4 separate regions of the Homo sapiens genome follow, and regions 2, 3 and 4 are each linked to region 1. The links are contacts of gene promoters, found by promoter capture Hi-C in blood cells and fetal thymus (Javierre and others, 2016). All regions are on one chromosome and are shown on one strand. The core of a region is centred on a gene start or on the middle of the fragment in contact, and the rest is flanking DNA. Distances in the headings are between cores, read along the strand shown. Region 1 holds the start of NAA16 (N-alpha-acetyltransferase 16, NatA auxiliary subunit). Region 2 holds the start of VWA8 (von Willebrand factor A domain containing 8). Region 3 overlaps DGKH (diacylglycerol kinase eta). Region 4 has its middle 11 kb from the start of AKAP11.

Region 1 (3,134 bases), core at 473-2,972:
ATGGGATTGCTGTGGACCCCCAATTTTAATGACAGTACTTTCCCTATTTTAAAGGACTCCTATGATGCTTTAAAATCATGTGTGAAACGTAGGAGATTGAAAGAAAAAAAAAGACTCCTATGATTCTTTCATGTCCAACCAACTTAGGCTAGAAAGAAGGAAAATCAAATAGGCAGGCACTGTGGCTCACACCTGTAATCCCAGCACTTTGGAAGGCCGAGGTGGGCAGATCACCTGAGGTCGGGAGTTTGAGACCAGCCTGACCAACATGGAGAAACCCCGTCTCTACTAAAAATACTAAATTAGCCAGGTGTGGTGGTGCATGCCTGTCATCCCTGCTACTTGGGAGGCTGAGGCAGGAGAATCGCTTGAACCTGGGAGGCGGAGGTTACAGGGAGCTGAGATAGCGCCATTGCATTCCAGCCTCGGCAACAAGAACAAAACATCGTCTCAAAAAAAGGAAAATAAAAAAGGGCAGCCCAGTTCTGATTACAGCCGACTAAATGCAGTTACTCATCAATTACTTTATAGTCTCAGAAATATGCACCCATTAAGATTCAGCACATGTATAAATAAACTTATGTACCTAATGTTTACACACACCTTACTACTAACCCTACACTGAATGTATGGTTTATTCTTGCCACTGTTGTATCTTTCTAGACTCACACATTACCATCAATATGCTGCCTTTTATTTGTTGTAGAGAGTATCCCAGAGTTGGAAGATCCTGAATTTGAAGCCTGTTTCTCCCATTATTATATGGCTTTCAGGAAGGGGAACCATCTGAAGAGAAAGGGTAGGTAGACTCAGAAGACCAGTGGCCTTATAAAACCGTAATTCCGGCCAGGTGTGGTGGCTCACGCCTGTAATCCCAGCACTTTCGGAGGTTGACGCGGGGGCGGATCACGAGGTCAAGAGATCAAGACCATCCTGGCCAACATGGTGAAAGCCTGTCTCTACTAAAAATACAAAATTAGCCGGGTGTGGTGGCGCATGCCTGTAATCCCAGCCACTCGGGAGGCTGAGGCAGGAGAATCCTTTGAACTCAGGAGGCGGAGGTTGCAGTGAGCCCAGATAGCGCCACTGCACTGCAGCCTGGGCGACAAGAGCGATACTCCATCTCAAAACCAACCAACCAAACAAAAACAAAGATTGTAAATGTTTGTTTGGTTTGCCCTGGAAAGAGAAGGCTTCTACTTAGAGTCTGAATCAAGGAGGAAAAGGAAAGAAAACAAGTTCATCTTTCATCAAAAGTCTACTTTGCATCGGACACTTAAATTCCTAAATGGGGAGAAATGCAAAAAACTCTGACTCTTCAGAGTCATAACTAACATTATCTTGCGCCACAAGCTTATCAAGAGTGCAATACAAGTCAGTGTCTTCTCTTTTCTACTTAAAAGAAAATTCTCGTTTTTATTTATTACTTTATTGCAAGGAGAAGCAGACAATAAGTAGGAGTCTTATGAGGCGTTCTGATGCATAGGAGCAATGGTGAATGAGGGTGGTGACTCACCACCCCATGGGACTCCAAGGTTTTGGTGACAGCTCGCCTGAGCCCCAGGGGGTGCCGAGATTGCGGCGAGGAGAGCCGCAGCACAAGGCAAATCCACGCGGTTGGTCCCCGCTACGCCCCCGTAGTCACCCGCAGCCCCTCGCCAAAGGGCGCTCCGCGCATGCGCACAGGATCCGGCTCGGGAGGCGGACCCTGGCTGCCATCTTGCAGTGCGCGGGAACCGCCGCCGCCGCCGCTGGCCAAAAAGCGGAGCCCAGGGGAAGCGTGTCCTGCTCAGACCGCCTTCCTTCTCCATTGCCACCCGTGCCGAACAGCCAGGCTGCCCAATTGCAACTGTAGACCAATGAACTAATCCATCGCCCGCAGCCCGACTCTCAGCAGCGGTTCGTCCCGGTGCCCACCCCCGCGAAGCGGAGCGCCCGGGCACCTAGCCTCCCTGCCGGCCACCTAGCCTCCCTGCCGGCCACGATGCCGAACGTGCTGCTGCCGCCCAAGGAGAGCAACCTCTTCAAACGCATCTTGGTGAGTGGCCGTAGGCCGCGCTGCCGCCCCCCGGTCCCCGGGTCCTCGGGCCTTAAGGGCAAGCGGTCTGGCGGCGGCCGGCGCGGGCCAGGCTTGGCCTCCGCTGCCCACCGCTCTTTGTTTACCTCGGAGGTCGCGGGACCCCACTTTCCCGCTCCGGCCGGCCCACGGGGGCTGCCGAGCCGCTCCTCCGTGCGCTTCCTTTCCGCGGTCTTCTGCGGCTCGCCTCACCCCCGCCGCGCTCTTTCCAGAAACTTCACGCCGCTCTCCGCAGTGCCCGGGCACAGCCGCCTCGGCCGGTAGTGGCTGCCGTGCTCTCTGCCGCGCCGGGCTCGCAGCAGCCCCTCAGGGATCCTCCCCCGGTGGTTTATTTTGCCAGTCTCTCCTCGGCTAGGTGTTTTGCGTTCTGCATTCTCTGCTTTGCGTTTAGTTAGATTGCACAGCACACCCGCATACCTATTAAAGCGGGATCGATGCGATGGTGGAATTTTTCCTGGTTACGAGGAAATAAAACCGGCAACTTTAGGAAGCCAGGCCTGGCACCACCTCCCTTTGGGAAAAAGTTTGCCTGTTTGTAATGTACCTTATTTACCTCTTTGGAAGTGAATATTTGACTTGAAGTGCGTTTCTGAGTTGTCACCAACTTCAAAACAGCTGTTTGCTTTTTAGTCGCACAGGCCTTGCTTGAGTAATTAAAGCCGCGTGGACTGGCTGGTTTTGCATTTGAGGGGAGCATTTTTACTTTATCGCGGAGCAGAAGCCTGAATAATGGCCCCGTAGTGATGACCGCTGCGGAGCCGGGTGGGCAGTTTTCTGTGGGCTGTGTGCCAGCGTCCCTGGTAGCTTTCCAGGTTCTGTTCTTCCAAGGAGAAGAGGCAGCATTCCTTTGCTTTCCTCAGTATCCTCTGGCTACCCTAGGTTTTAAACTAATATTGTTAGTAGGTAACTGTCTTTTCTAGTTTATCTTTTCACCTGAAAAAAAGCTTTTATTTGCTAAACATGCATTTAGGTTTAAAGGTGAATTTATTGAAAGCTGGGTTGGCTATATGGCTGTTAGTTGTTGCTTAACTTTACTATAAATAAAATACTAATTTTA
Region 2 (3,466 bases), core at 950-3,449, 650 kb after region 1:
TATTTTCTTTTTAGTAGACACGGGGGTTTCACCGTGTTAGCCAGGATGGTCTCGATCTCCTGACCCCGTGATCCGCCCGCCTCAGCCTCCCAAAGTGCTGGGATTACAGGCGTGAGCCACCGCGCCCGGCCCATATGCTCATTTCTTAGCAAGGAAAACTGGGGGTTGCGGGGAAAATGCAAGAGGACAACGAAACCTACAATTTCATAGTGAAAACCTGTTATTCCAAGCAGCACTGACATTGACAAAATCTTGTCTGGAATCACTTCACCATTCAAGGGTAGCAACAACAGATATCCTTTCCTTAACCATCACAGTAACTCTAACTCCACCAACACACAAGAAAAAGAATTCCTAAAACCAGCTCAAGTAGAGCCAAAAAATACTGAGCTTAGAAATCAAAGCATGTGATTCTAGCATAGTAATTAGTTGTGTGTTCTCCAGCGAATCACTTTTCCCTTCTGGGTTTCAATTACCTCATTTGTAGAGGCAAGTGTTTTAACTAAATTAAGGTGTAACTGTCAGCTCTAAGAATTACGTGAAACTTTAAGGAAAACTCCTGTAAAACTTGGAAAGGCTCGGGGATGCATTTAAAACACCGTGAACTATGGGTTCTTTGGCAAGAATGTTCCCTTCTAAGCCGCCACAAGCCCTGGCTAGAACATGACACAGACCGGCTTCCAGGCCCTTGAGGCTCAGAGAGCAAGGTCAAATCCAGCTTTCAATAATTCCATAGGGCTGAGGCATTAACCTCTACGAGTATTATAACCTAAGTCAGAATTCTGGGGGTAAAGGCAGCGGCAGGGGAAGGAGAAATCACTCTTCTAGGTCATCAGAAACCTTAGTCCAGACCCCTCGGGTTGCAGAATCAGGCACAGAGAGGGCGAGCGCCTTGCCCCCACGTTACACAGCAGTTAGCGCCGAGGTCGGGACTAGAACCTCAATCTTTCAGCTCCCCGCTCGGCAAACGGTCCTTCCAAGCGCAGCGAAGCAACAGAGAGGAGGGGCGGGGGCGCGCGGGGACCCGGCACGGAGCGCAGGGGCACCAGGGAGGACAGGGGCGCACCCCGAGTTACCTGTGTCGGCCCCCGAGCCGGCGTGCAACAGTCTGACCTCCGGCCGCTGCCTGTCGCCACCCGGCCTGCGCTGCACCACCTGCCGCAGGAGCAGCCGCATGCGCCGCGAGGCCGGGCCGCCGTGGCCTCCGGGTGCCCCGAGGAGTAGAAGCCGGGATTGCATGGCGCCGGGGGGGCTGTCGGGGACGGCGAGGGGGCTCGGGGATCGAGCGGCGTCCCGTGCAGGCACCGTGAGGCAGCGCGGAGAAGGGGACAGGAAGCGGCACCTAGCCGAGTCCGCCGGAAACTCCTTCCCCCGCGGCGCGGCCGGCTCAGTAGACTCAGCCCGGCCCTACCCGGCCCTGCATGGCCCAGACGGGCGGAAAGAGCCTGCGGAGCTCCAGCCCAAAGAGCCGGCACCGTCCCGGGACTGCCCGCACCGCGGGGGTGCTCCGAGCTGCGGCGCTGGGCTCTGGCAAGCGCCTCGCAGTCCGTGAGACTGTCTGTTCACCTGGATGCACCAGGCCTTCACCCGCCGTTTCCCTGCGATCCCACAGAATCTCAGGAGTTCAGTAAATGCCAAGGGTTTTAGGAGCATTTGTCGGTGTGACTCTTCAGATGCTTGCCCCAAGTCTTCGTTTCTTAGTTAAAGGCCCAGTAAGTATAGGGAGCTTTCCCTGTATTCGGCTTCAGATTTCGGAAATGGAGAAAACATGCACAAGATGATGGGAACTTTCACAACTGTCTTGATTCATTGTAACCACACTAGTGTTTCCAAACCGTACGTGAAAGCTTTACCCTTTGTCCTTTTGGTGGTGGTTGTTTGTTTCTGTGTTTTATTACCGCTTCCTAAATTCTAAGGAAAAAATTCACATCTTAGTGATAGATGGAAATTGCTTAAATATCAGAAAGGATCCAGATCAAGCACTTTTCTAGTCATGCTGTAATACAAAAGTTATATAAAGATGATTTATGTCTTTAGTAAAGGAAAAAGTAGGACACTGGCTAAGGCTGCCTCCCTCTTGTACATTCCAACATCGGAAATGGTCCTACCACAAAGCAAACTAAGCCTAATGTAATTAGACTGCATCCCCAAAATGTCACAGTGAATTGACTAAGGCAAAATATTTGAGACAAGTTATACAAGCAAACATCAAAAAGAAGGCAGAAGACCTCACTTTCAGCTAAAGACCTTGCTAATTCTAGAGCTGCCACTGTCTAAATACATAGCACCTACCCTGCGCCTGACCCTGTGATGAGTGCTGAGAAGAGAGTGTTAGAGTGGAGACTGTAAAAGTCAAACAAGGCTAGGTAAGGAAGGCTTTGGGCATCCAGCGGAAGAACTTGAGGAATGAAGGCTGAACCAGGCTTCTAACCTAGATGAGGAGACAGTGAAAATAAAGGTAATAAGTAGTTACACAATATATTATGACTTCGTTTCATGTGTATCTTCTCATTTAATCCTCATAGCAACCCTAAGACATAAATTTAGGATGTAAGCTTATAAAATGCTTTTCCTACTTTGAGCACATTGTATGTATCAAGATTTTAATGAATTATCCCATTTCACATAAAAATGCTTTGAGGTACTATTATTATCCTCCGTTTTACAGATGAAGAAACTGAGGCTAGAAGAATTGAATACCTTGGTCAAGATATCTCCATTTAATCTCGCTGGAACTCAGTAGACACCTGAAAGAATGGGAGAACAACCTAAGGCAATTTTGCAAAGTGGTTGATATAAGCACTAAGAGCTCTTGGAGTTAAGACAATGGAGAGATCAACACAAGTTAGAGCATTCAACAACATTTTTTGCCTAGTTTTATTTTTTTTAGAGACAAAGTCTCACTCTGTTGCCCAGGCTGGGGTGCAGCGGCAGTATTATAGCTCATTGCAACCTCGAACTCCTGGGCTCGAGTGATCCTCCTGCTTCAGCCTCCCTAGTAGCTGAGACTACAGGCGTGCACCACTGTGCCTGGCTAATTTTTGTGTTTTTGTTTTCGTAGCAGTGGAGTCTTGTTATGTTGCCCAGGCTGGTCTCAAGCTCCTGGCCTCAAGTGATCCTCCTGCCTCAGCCTCCCAACGACAACATTTATTGAGTAACTGCTGTATAAACAGTACCCTGCTAGATACTGTGAATCAATGGGCTCACATTAGGTATTGATGATAAATATGCAAATAAAGAATTGCAATACAGTGAGACACGTGTCAAGAGATTTAGGTTCAACATACTGTGGAGTGGATTGCTGCACCTGGAGTCTTCACAGAGAAGGTAGTGTTTGAAATGATTCATGTAGGATATATTATACAAGAGTTTGTCAGGCTGAGACAAGTCAAATCTGGCAGACAGATCATGTACAGAGAGAGAGAGAAAGAAACAGCTGAAAGTGCAGGGCATGATTGAGAACCAG
Region 3 (3,224 bases), core at 303-2,802, 810 kb after region 1:
CCTTTCTACTGTGGTTATATTTTCCCCATATTATCTTTTGACCTCTCTCTATGGCAGTGTCCTTTTATGAGTCACAAGTGCACACTTTATGCAGCAGTGAACCATGAAACTGGATAGGACATTAAAGACTCTGAACCGTTGTTTGGTTATTTCAGGTTATTGAGGTGTGGGTGCTAATTGAGCTTTCCTAGTCTAAAGTGAAAATAATATGTTACCCAGAGGTTCCACATCTCCAATCTTGGTTTGAAAATAAACTAGGACTGAAAACATGGAATGAAAATATATTCTTTTGTGTTTTGAAGGAATGAATATTTGAATTCAAATTAATTTTTCTTAGGGTAAGCTTTTCATTTTTATAAAATAATGTTTAATCATCTTGGGAAGAACAACTATGTAGTATATCTTCAAAAATAAAATTTTCAAATTGAATAAATAAGTATATTTCAAACTTTCGAATTAGGAAATGCCTGTATATTTTAGGATTTGTTTGGTTATATAATTATTAACTACTGCTGAAAATGCAACAGAAAATTGGAACTCAAAATTTTTCAGTTATTGCTCTCTAACCTCAAGTAATATCAAATTACGCTGTTTCAAATGGTATAGGAGACCATTAAGCTAACTGAAGACAAAGTTTAAAAGAATTATTATTTGTTACCCATAACCATATTAAGGATATGATTTATTTAAAAAACAACAACCAAAAAACTAATCCAATTATTTAAAAAACAACCACCAAAACACTAATCCAATTTACTGTTATATGGAGGCTGTAATTTTTAGTTATGGTAGATCTCGAAAGTTCATGAACCCTCTAAAATTGTATGTAATTTTTAGTGTGTATATTGTGTGTGTATGTGCGCACATGCAGGCATGTTTCTGGAGAGATAGTATTCACAACTTTCAACAGATTCTGAAAAGGCATCTTGATCCAACCAAAGTTATGAACCACTGTCACAGAGGTTACTTTGCCCATTTTCCTTTTTACTTACAGACCCCAACCCACAACTAGATTTTGTTCCAGAAGTAGTTTGTTTATGAACTGGTTGTTTGGAACTTAGACCACATTTTTCTATGAAAGTAATAATATATATTATACACACACACACACACACACACACAACATGCGCACACACACACACACGCACACAAGACATTCCCTGACTTACAGTGGTTCAACTTAATAATTTTCCAATTTTCTGATATGAAAGCAGTATGAATTCAGTACAAAACGTACTTTGAGTTCTCATGCAACCATTCTGTTTTCACTTTCAGTGTGATATTCAATTACATGAGATATTCAATACTTTATTAGAAAATAGGCTTTGTATTAGATGATTTTGCCCACCTGTAGGCTAACGTAAGTGTTCTGAGCACGTTTAAGGTAGATTAGGCTAAGCTGTGATGTTCAGTAGGCTAGGTATATGAAATGCATTTTTGACTTACAATATTTTCAACTTATGATGAGTTTATTAGTATGTTCATTGTAACTTGAGGAGCATCTGTACTTACATAAATTATAGAACCTTCACAATGGTGATACAAAGACAAATGAGATAGACCTCCCGGACTCCAAGGAGTTTATAATCCAGGCCAGTGCAAAAGGCAGGTAAAACCTATCCTCAGTTGAGATTGACCTCCTAATTTGCCTGTGACCTTCCTGTTCATTTTTCTGCAGCTATGTCAGGACTCATTCCTTCTCACCACTACACCCATAGAAGTATTAGGCAACTGGTATCCTTGGGATTCAGACACATGAGACTATAGCATGGGGACTTAAGCGTTAAGGCAGATTTATGACATGGTTTCTATGGAAAGATGTACTCCTAGTTCTAACTTGGAACCCAGGTTCCTGGGACACAGAGAGTCCTTCACTTGGAGCCTCATTAGTGGATACTGTCTGTGTGATGAATGAAGAGTACACCTCACCTCCGCCGTGGAGTCTCTCCCTCAAGAGTTCTTTACACAGCCAGAATAAAGACCTTCTCATTACTAATGACCATTTGTGTTTGAAATATTCATAAGTCAGACTTTTCTTTCTGAGGTGCGGCATGAAAAATTTTCCCCACTACCCCAATTAGGTTCTTGATGAGGGACATGATAGTTCTTTGTAGCTAGACTACATAATTTCTGGTAGAACTTTTATAATATATGTTAGTTGTTGACCAAAGGGAGAAGCTAAAGGGTGAAAGAGGGCAGAAAGAGAAAGTGGAATGAGAGGGCATGAGTGCTTCATGATGTCATCACAAGATTTAGCTTCTCATTATGCCACATAAAGAGTGGCAGTTTCTTAGTTCATTTTTCTTGCTTAGAACACCTGAGGCTGGGTGATTTATAAGGAAAATAAATTTATTTGTTACAGTTCTGGAGGCTGGAAAGTCCAAGGGCATAGCTGGGCATCTGGTGAGAGCCTTCTTCCTGGCAGGGACTCTCTGCAGAGTCCCAAGGTTACACAGAGTATCACATGGCAAGGGGGCTGAGCATGCTAATGTGCTAGCTCAGATCTTTCTTTCTTCTCTTGTAAAGCCATCAGTTCCACTCTCATGTTAGCCCATTGATCCATTAACCATTAATCTATGTATGGATTAATCCATTCATGCAGGCAGAGCACTCATGACCCCATAGCTTCTTGAAGGCTCTAGGTCTCAACACTGCCATATTGAGGATTGTATTTCATCATAAGTTTCAGAGGGGACATCAAATTATAATAGACAGTGTCAGTCTTTCTTTATAATTCTTCATGTTTTCTACAGGTCCTGGGAAAGCTTTTTAGATTAGACTGTTAGCGTATCTTGTCATTGCATATGATGTGTGCACATATTTTGAAACATGGATCAAGAAGACATGCTCCACCTATATAGATGAATAGGAGGAAATTTTGTCTTCAGAGAATACAGCAAAGAGTGGTCATGTTTTGGAGTTAAACATGAATTTACACTAAGAATTATAATTACTTTAGCCAAATAATTTTGCAAGATGTTCTTTGATTTGACTAAAAAATCTGTATGATCCAAGACCACAATAATTTTTAGCGTTATAAAAAGATGTGACTAACTTTAGAAAAGTCAGATTGGATTAGCTTGTACATTCACCATTTGCTACCAAAAAGCCAACGTAGAGGACTGTGGTCTATTTCTTAGTTACATATTAGCTACATTAAGTCGCTAATTCCTCAAATATGGAGGTGCCTCTTTATGGATATGCAAAATGTATATTATAAATTT
Region 4 (3,261 bases), core at 255-2,754, 950 kb after region 1:
AACCTAAGCACCCCACTGTCTTCAAGGCTACTGACTCCAAGCCAGACCTTCACTGCTATTTTGTCCCCATTCCTCAGGTCAAGCCTCAAGAAACCATATGAAAAGAAAGAATGAAAAGGTATTGTGGAACAGCAGAAATGTGCCTGTTGATAACAATTGATGACAATTATTTGATTTTGTGACAGACCCTTGGGAGTCAATAAGGCACAGTCGCTACCTGCCTTCAAGTGGCACATTGGTCAAGTTGGTTATGAAGAACCAAAGATAATGTGTAAAACAGGAGTAATGTGTATGGCCAGAGTCACAGACTAGGGAAATGTATCCCATGTAGGCTTCCTGACAAATGTCTTTTCAAGAATTCTCAAGGAGAGTCAGATCCTTGGGACAGGAGGTGATGCTACCCCCTTCAACTGGACTAATGAGTTTTCTAGGGACCAAATTGCAGTAGAAATCCCAGCACTGTGGGTCTCTGCATCTTCCCTGTAGGGCAGTGGCCAAAGATCCCAATGGCAGGCAGAGATGAGGTGGCAGGCTCTCAGTATTTGTTTTTTTTCTTGTATTCCATTTGTTAAAGTATTGGATTTCTTTCCAGTGGAGTGAGAGTCTGAGGTGACATAAACTACATATTCCCAAATATAAAGTATGAAGAATAGGAGTTGAATTTGGCAGGATGAAGGAGGGACTAATGAAGTACACTCTGGAATTTGAAAGCATTAGGAGTTGTAATTATGTGTTACATACACAATGGTCATGATGAGGAGATGAGAACGGTAACATGTAGATTTGTTAAGAGTTATGTATAGAGAAATTACCAAGATGTCACTGAGACTAGTAACATTCCTTTAGGGTTGTCCCTGGGTACCACTGTTGACATATCATTTGAAGGTCTTAACATCCTTGAGAAAACTTGTCAGTTATTCTTGGTGGCTTAGAATTCTTCAACATATTCTACAGCTGCAAACACAAGTAGGCCCAAGAAATACCCTGGTTAGAAAATGTAGTTAATGCACATTTTGTGTTCCGAGATAAGAGTGGATGACATTTAAATAAGCAAGTTAGCTGACAGGAAGAAGAAACGATCAGTTAGTTATCTTGGTAGTGGGAAGGGTGGCACTGAATGTTGCAGATAGTGACTATCTGAGGCCGATGTTGTGTAAGTGGTAATAAGAATTTACCAAGTGATATGGGTTGGCTCTGTGTCCTCACCCAAATCTCATCTTGTAGCTTCCATAATTCCCACGTGTTATGGGAGGGACTCAGTGGGAGATGTTTGAATCATGCGGGTGGGTCTTTCACATGCTGTTCTCATGATAATAATAAGGCTCACGAGATCTGATGGTTTTAAAAATGGGAGTTTCCCTGCACAAATTCTCTCTCTTTGCCTGCCACCATCCATGTAAGATGTGACTTGCTCTTCCTTGCCTTCCACCATGATTGTGAGATCTCCCCAGCCGTGTGGAGCTGTAAGTCCATTAAACCTCTTTTTCTTCCCAGTGTTGGGCGTGTCTTTATCAGCAGTGTGAAAATGGACTAATACACCAAGACAATTGTAAGTAAAGAAAGACAGATTTATTAGAGAAAGTATGAAAGTATGTTTCAAGGAAGTAATGGGCAGGTCAGCAAGAGAGGAGCTGACTGCAAGGAGACAAAGGCCTGCTGAAGATTTTATAGGATGGTGCTTCTGTTATGTGAAGAGGGCTTTGTGCAGTACTGATAACACTAAGGTTTCAGTGAGCTAATTTGCATTTTTCTATCAGCCAAGGGTCTGGTGATAGCTAGGCACAGGAAGATTGTGAGTTAAATGTGCAAGAGGGCTATGTGTCCTGGACCATGAAGAAAGGCAGACTTATAACTTACCTGTTTTTTCTTTTTGCTTTCCTGTGGTCCTGCAGTCTGATTCCTTTTCCCAAATTAGGACTTCACATTGAAAATATATTATAGCCTTAGGGGTTGGCTGATTATTTCTGTACAGCTAGTAGTCTGGGGGTCGTATCCCAGGACAGGTCCATTTTGACTGACCGGTAGAGAAGAGGTTCTGCCTAAGGCAGGATATAAACAGGGTATCCAAATTCTTTTCTAAACTGAGATATTTTTGAAAAATAAAAGAGGCGCTAATAACAGGCAGCAACTGTGATTGTACCAGTCAAAATAGAATGTAAAATCACCCTAAATAGAAATACAGAAGGGTCCTCAGACCACAGCAATTTTGTTCATGGCTTTGTGGACCAGTATTACTATCCAAGTGACTCCTCTGGGGGTTCCCTGGCATAGGTGGAAGTGAGCCACTGGTTCTTGGAACAGCTCTGAAAGTGGTATTATATTACTGAGAGGAAGGGAGCTTAGTGAGGAAATCCATTATCAAGGTGGCCCAGGGGAACTGAATGTTTGGCAGGGATCACAGAAAACCTTTGGCTTTTCCCAGTAGGTGTTTGTTCTTCTGTATATTTTGTATATCATTGTATTCCACTACTTCCATTTTTTGACCTAGAGTTGTTAGAAGTCATGAGTCAAGGAAAGTAGAACCTTGTGTTCACCAAAATGAATGAATAAACAGAGGGCAGGATTCATGACAATTTTCTATAACATGTAAGTCATTTGAAACACACTTCTGTCTGAGGGCAAGCAGAGGGTTTGCTAGATCTCTTAATATATTATTGCCATTCCTGGGTGAGAAATGAGAAGGTCCAGTAGAAGCTGGATCATAGGAGAAAACACTATAGTATTACAAAACCCAGTCCCCAATGGAGGTGGTAAATTAGATTACTGAGAACAAGGAGAGGAAACATTTGCCATGTTCTGGCAGAAGGGGCTGGAATATAGATTCTGTATGGTGTCTAAGAATCAAGCATCATTTCTGTAGAGAGGGCTCTCTGTTTGTAGGATGGCATCATCCAGTCATATCTTAATGAGGGGATGCTGTAGCAGACAGCTGCACTGACCATGTAGCTAGAGACCAGGCAGAAATGTGGGTACTTCAGTGGAGGCTGATGTGGAAAGGTAGTAATGATCAAGAAACAGATAGCATAGTATACATTTCAGTGGACTTCAGTGGAGGACTTTATTCCTTCCTGGAACTTAGGTGAGAATTCTTAGAATTACATAAAGAGTAAAATGAGCAAGAAGTGTTCACAATAATTTTTTTAAAGTTACAAAAATATAGACTAATATTAAACTTCGAAGAGCATAGGGTTTGACACTGAAACCCAAGTAGCACCTTATAAATGTTGGCTTCTCTTTCACAGAAAAGAAATGCCGTTTCCT

What was found. Contacts are between HindIII fragments. The CHiCAGO score rates a contact against its expected background, and 5 or more counts as called.
Region 2: a contact is called between a fragment that was not itself captured here and the fragment with the promoter of NAA16 in region 1, in 5 of 17 cell types (fetal thymus, total B cells, monocytes and 2 more). The highest score is 8.7, in fetal thymus.
Region 3: a contact is called between a fragment that was not itself captured here and the fragment with the promoter of NAA16 in region 1, in 1 of 17 cell types (megakaryocytes). The highest score is 5.3, in megakaryocytes.
Region 4: a fragment that was not itself captured here is called in contact with the fragment with the promoter of NAA16 in region 1 in 1 of 17 cell types (erythroblasts); the score reaches 6.0 in erythroblasts.

What each region holds. Positions count from the first base shown.
Region 1 is chr13:41,309,545-41,312,678 of GRCh38, forward strand. It overlaps NAA16 (N-alpha-acetyltransferase 16, NatA auxiliary subunit), which reads left to right and starts at 1,723. Exons shown (of 20, transcript NM_024561.5): 1 at 1,723-2,038. The coding sequence starts at 1,985. It also overlaps a transcript of MTRF1 not described here. The HindIII fragment of the contact is 1,668 bases long and covers 1,352-3,019 here.
Region 2 is chr13:41,959,777-41,963,242 of GRCh38, forward strand. VWA8 (von Willebrand factor A domain containing 8) reads right to left here and starts at 1,333. Exons shown (of 45, transcript NM_015058.2): 1 at 1,077-1,333. The coding sequence starts at 1,239. VWA8-AS1 (VWA8 antisense RNA 1) reads left to right here and starts at 1,393. Exons shown (of 4, transcript NR_039974.1): 1 at 1,393-2,458. RefSeq lists enhancers at 1-66, 67-567, 663-802 and a silencer at 1,003-1,412. The HindIII fragment of the contact is 708 bases long and covers 1,846-2,553 here.
Region 3 is chr13:42,119,970-42,123,193 of GRCh38, forward strand. The region is part of intron 1 of DGKH (diacylglycerol kinase eta); the gene reads left to right. Among named protein-coding and RNA genes, the nearest start is that of DGKH, 73 kb to the left of the region's middle. The HindIII fragment of the contact is 2,422 bases long and covers 342-2,763 here.
Region 4 is chr13:42,260,004-42,263,264 of GRCh38, forward strand. No RefSeq gene overlaps it. Among named protein-coding and RNA genes, the nearest start is that of AKAP11, 11 kb to the right of the region's middle. The HindIII fragment of the contact is 3,886 bases long and covers 1-3,261 here.